Linked DNA regions of Homo sapiens: region 2 is linked to region 1. Evidence: promoter capture Hi-C in 16 types of primary human blood cells and fetal thymus (Javierre and others, 2016). All regions are on one chromosome and are shown on one strand. Each heading gives the region's core, a stretch centred on a gene start or on the middle of the fragment in contact. The rest is flanking DNA. Distances are from core to core; before and after follow the strand shown.

Region 1 (2,505 bases), core at 3-2,502:
GGGATATAGAGATGGGATATAGAGATGGGATATAGAGATGGGATATAGAGATGGGATATAGTGATGGAATATAGAGATGGGATATAGAGATGGAATAGATATGGAATATAGAGATGGAATAGATATGGAATATAGAGATGGAATAGATATGGAATATAGAGATGGAATATAGAGATGGGATATAGAGATGGGATATAGAGATGGAATATAGAGATGGGATATAGAGATGGAATATAGAGATGGGATATAGAGATGGAATATAGTGATGGGATATAGAGATGGAATATATAGATGGAATATAGAGATGGAATATATAGATGGAATACATATATATTCCATTGCATTGTTCTTTACAAACATTCATTTAATTATGTAATTGCTAATTAATTGCTTGGTTGTTATAACAACGAAGTATTTGATTCCTTATTTTATCTCATCATTTAAATTTTATTTCGCATATTTTCACAATGCACTGGATCTATTACTGAGGAATTTAATTAAATAATCATTCGAACCATGGGCTCGAATTGTTTACTGATAAAGCCCGACGACCAAAACAGCCTAGCGACTGCTGTTTGGAGCCCCTCGGCCCAGGGCCCGTGGCTGTTCTCTCCAAGGGACCATCTCGCCCCTCAGCCAAGTCGCCCGGAAAACGAGCGCTCGACCGCCTCTGCCCCGCTCTCGCTCTGCACACAGCAACGGTCTGGTCGCTCAGCCACTTCCTCCTTCCAGCCTCATCTGGTTCCCAGGCCGCTGGGGACTCCCAACGCCACTGTCCAAGACTCTAGGGTCAGCAAGCGCCCCGGGCGGAGAAGGGCGAGGACGAAGAGCGCCGGGCCGCGACCAGGAGCCCACCCGCGCCCTCCGACTGCAGACATGGGGAAGAGACGCGGGAACTCCAAAGTCGCTGGGTCTGCGCAGGTGTGTGCCGCGATCCTGTGAAGGTCAAGGCCTCCTGTGAGGGGGAGTCGTCCTGGAATGCGATGGTGAAGTGCTCCAGACCGGCCATAGGCCGGAAAGAGTGAGGAAGAAGAGAATGCAGGAGGCCTGCGATTTCTAAGGCGCGCGCGCACAGGGGTGCTGCAATTAGGATGGGGCAATGGGAGCTTGGAGAAGGGGTGCTAGCTAGGAGGAAAGGCGCGTGCGTGGAGGAACGGCGCGTGCGCGGAGGGGCGGTGTGTGTGTCAGAAGAGGCGGCGCGTGCGTAGAGGGGCGGTGAGAGCTAAGAGGGGCAGCGCGTGTGCAGAGGGGCGGTGTGACTTAGGACGGGGCGATGGCGGCTGAGAGGAGCTGCGCGTGCGCGAACATGTAACTGGTGGGATCTGCGGCGGCTCCCAGATGATGGTCGTCCTCCTGGGCGCGACGACCCTAGTGCTCGTCGCCGTGGCGCCATGGGTGTTGTCCGCAGCCGCAGGTGAGAGGCGGGGAGGAGAGTCTTGGCGCAGGGCGGGAGGTAGGGCACGCAGCTGGGCTACGGGGGCGGCGATGCTGTTGGGGGCGACAGACGCCCAGTCTGGGAAACCTTCGGTCCACTTTGCCGCGCCAAAGATTAAACCCGACCTGGGCTCGCAAATCAACCAGGAGAAAGTGGTGTTCTGGGTCCTCTCTTGCCGCTTGCCTGTGGCCGTGTACGGGTCCTCGGGAGCGCCCGGGTCCCACCCCCGTGAAATGGCGGTGCCAGAGCTTTGTGTCGAGTTTGATTCTTTCCGGGAAAGTACCGCGGCTCCGCTGGTCTGTTTGATAATAAACAAAACATTTCCCGAAATGCATTTCCTCAATCTGGTGAATAGGCGCCCAGTCCCACGGGGGAGTGAGCTAAGTGTGGCCAGGATTTCTCTGCCCTCAGGATTCATACAGGCCAATAAAAAATGACAGTCGGAGTGACTGAAGCATAATTGTCAGTTCTCGAGGTTTACTAAGCCTGCTTCAGGGCGCATCCGGGAAAAACGTGAGCCACAAACACGTCTGTGACTGGTTTTCCAGAGGTTTTCAGGAGGTGGGGCAGGAAGGCAGTAAGGCAAATAGTTCTGTGAGAATTTAGTTAGTGCCCAAGAAATCTGTATTTTAAGATACCATGAGTGTCTTGAAGAGAAAAAGAGAGTAAAGGGAGTCAGTTATGCAGATGCCTCTGGGTAGATGGAGTCTTGACTTTGTTTTGCACCTGAGAAGATAAGCTTGTAATTGACATGGTCAGTGTGGAAGGCCTGAACTAGTTTTTCAGATTAACTTTGGAATGCCATTTGTTGAGAGGAGAGGTCCATTCACATTGTTGGGGGGCTTAGAATTTTATTTTTGGTTTACTTAACTACCTACTTTTTTCCCAAAGAAATAATCATGTTCAAAACTCAATGAAATGTTATCTCAATGAGATTGTAATGTTGCTCAGTCTTTCAGAAGTCATAAAAATAGTCATACTTTTTAAACTAGTAAATGCAATTCTAGGACCCAAGACTAAGAAAACTGTCCAAAATATGGGAAGACATTTTTATTTATACTTTTTTTTTT
Region 2 (2,505 bases), core at 1-2,500, 61 kb before region 1:
CGGAGGGGTCTGGGGGCAGAATTACCTTCAATGTGGACTTAAACTCTGTGTTTTTGAGAGTTCTTGATGACGAGGACAGTGACGACTTAGAAGCCCCTCTGATGCTATCGTCTCATCTGGAAGAGATGGTTGACCCAGAGGATCCTGATAATGTGCAATCAAACCATTTGCTGGCCAGCGGGGAAGGGACACAGCCAACCTTTCCCAGCCCCTCTTCAGAGGGCCTGTGGTCCGAAGATGCTCCATCTGATCAAAGTGACACTTCTGAGTCAGATGTTGACCTTGGGGATGGTTATATAATGAGATGACTCCAAAACTATTGAATGAACTTGGACAGACAAGCACCTACAGGGTTCTTTGTCTCTGCATCCTAACTTGCTGCCTTATCGTCTGCAAGTGTTCTCCAAGGGAAGGAGGAGGAAACTGTGGTGTTCCTTTCTTCCAGGTGACATCACCTATGCACATTCCCAGTATGGGGACCATAGTATCATTCAGTGCATTGTTTACATATTCAAAGTGGTGCACTTTGAAGGAAGCACATGTGCACCTTTCCTTTACACTAATGCACTTAGGATGTTTCTGCATCATGTCTACCAGGGAGCAGGGTTCCCCACAGTTTCAGAGGTGGTCCAGGACCCTATGATATTTCTCTTCTTTCGTTCTTTTTTTTTTTTTTTTTTGAGACAGAGTCTCGTTCTGTCGCCCAAGCTGGAGCGCAATGGTGTGATCTTGGCTCACTGCAACATCCGCCTCCCAGGTTCAAGTGATTCTCCTGCCTCAGCCTCCCTCGCAAGTAGCTGGGATTACAGGCGCCTGCCACCATGCCTAGCAAATTTTTGTATTTTTAGTAGAGACAGGATTTTACCATGTTGGCCAGGCTGGTCTCAAACTCCTGACCTCAAGTGATCTGCCCTCCTCAGCCTCGTAAAGTGCTGGGATTACAGGGGTGAGCCGCTGTGCCTGGCTGGCCCTGTGATATTTCTGTGAAATAAATTGGGCCAGGGTGGGAGCAGGGAAAGAAAAGGAAAATAGTAGCAAGAGCTGCAAAGCAGGCAGGAAGGGAGGAGGAGAGCCAGGTGAGCAGTGGAGAGAAGGGGGGCCCTGCACAAGGAAACAGGGAAGAGCCATCGAAGTTTCAGTCGGTGAGCCTTGGGCACCTCACCCATGTCACATCCTGTCTCCTGCAATTGGAATTCCACCTTGTCCAGCCCTCCCCAGTTAAAGTGGGGAAGACAGACTTTAGGATCACGTGTGTGACTAATACAGAAAGGAAACATGGCGTCGGGGAGAGGGATAAAACCTGAATGCCATATTTTAAGTTAAAAAAAAAAAAAGCAAACACAAAGATGCTTCAAGATCTTCAGGAGAAGTATGGTATACAAGTTTCAGGGACCCTATTTGACAATTTTCAGAGTGCTCTCTATGCTGATTCCGAGTCGAGTGTGTCAGCTGTGATTACAGTGCCTGTGGATCTAGGCCGGGTTGGGGGGGTGTGGGCGGGGGAAGGGAAGTCTGGCCCGGAGCAATTGCTCCTGCCGGTAACCCCAGCACTTTGGGATGCCTAAACAGGCGTATCGCTTGAGGCCAGTAATTCGAGACCAGCCTGGGCAACATGGCAAATCTGTCTCTACAAAACAAAATTAGAAAAATTAACTGGGCGTAGTGGCATGTGCCTGTTGTCCCAGCTACTTGGGAGGCTGAGGTGGGAGAATGGCTTGAGCCCAGGAAGCGGAGGTTGCAGTGAGCCAAGATCATGTCACTGCACTTCAGCCTGGGTGACAGAACCAGACCCTGTCTTTAAAAAGGGAGTTGGTGGGGAGAGGTTCTAGAATGTCATGTAGCAACCAGTTTAAGGACTGGGACTCAGGGATCCAACTCCCACAGTTTCCCTGTGTGACCCTAGGCATTTGACTTAGCCTTTCTGAGCCTCAGGTTTTTTGTTTCTGAAGTAAAAGGATTGGACTAGGTAATCTCCAAGATCCTAGGAACCCAGGAGAAAGATGAGAAAATGTACAAGAATGAACACTCAGGTGGAAATGCTGCAATCCTGAGAAGCTCCCAGGATGAATGAAAGGCACAGGACCTCTTACCCCTCACCCCTGCCCCCCTCAAGAGCTGGTTTCTCAAACCTTTCTCTTAGGCCCCTTCAAAGGGGGAAAACTAAAAATTATACAAGTTATAGTTCAAGGACTTTAAATAGATTATTTATATGATTGCTCATAAGGATGAGGCTGTGAGGAGGGAACACCTTATTTAATCTAATGAAATTCCATAGGAAAGAGGCCTTTTGTATATTGAATCAATTTATCTGCCTTCTCAGTGCATCTGTCATATTCTGAAAGATTCTGGGTTGATCTTTTGCGATAACCTCTATGGCTGTGAGTGTGTGTGTGTGTTTGTGTATTTTTTAACATTTTGTATAATGATTGGAGGTTGGTAAAAAGTAACACAACAGTACTTTTTTAATACAAACTTGGTGTGGTCTTGAGTTGTCTTCCATTGGAG

What was found. Contacts are between HindIII fragments. The CHiCAGO score rates a contact against its expected background, and 5 or more counts as called.
Region 2: a fragment that was not itself captured here is called in contact with the fragment with the promoter of IFNAR1 in region 1 in 1 of 17 cell types (total B cells); the score reaches 5.1 in total B cells.

What each region holds. Positions count from the first base shown.
Region 1 is chr21:33,323,718-33,326,222 of GRCh38, forward strand. IFNAR1 (interferon alpha and beta receptor subunit 1) reads left to right here and starts at 1,253. Exons shown (of 11, transcript NM_000629.3): 1 at 1,253-1,414. The coding sequence starts at 1,339. RefSeq lists promoters at 1-1,240, 594-1,264, enhancers at 277-1,179, 467-676, 897-946, 1,180-2,081 and cis regulatory regions at 685, 1,176-1,185, 1,242. The HindIII fragment of the contact is 6,325 bases long and covers 1-2,172 here.
Region 2 is chr21:33,263,193-33,265,697 of GRCh38, forward strand. The region is part of intron 7 of IFNAR2-IL10RB (IFNAR2-IL10RB readthrough); the gene reads left to right. IFNAR2 (interferon alpha and beta receptor subunit 2) reads left to right here. Exons shown (of 9, transcript NM_001289125.3): 9 at 1-2,472. The coding sequence ends at 308. IL10RB-DT (IL10RB divergent transcript) reads right to left here. Exons shown (of 2, transcript NR_038974.1): 2 at 2,440-2,505. Among named protein-coding and RNA genes, the nearest start is that of IL10RB-DT, 1.8 kb to the right of the region's middle. The HindIII fragment of the contact is 3,561 bases long and covers 1-2,505 here.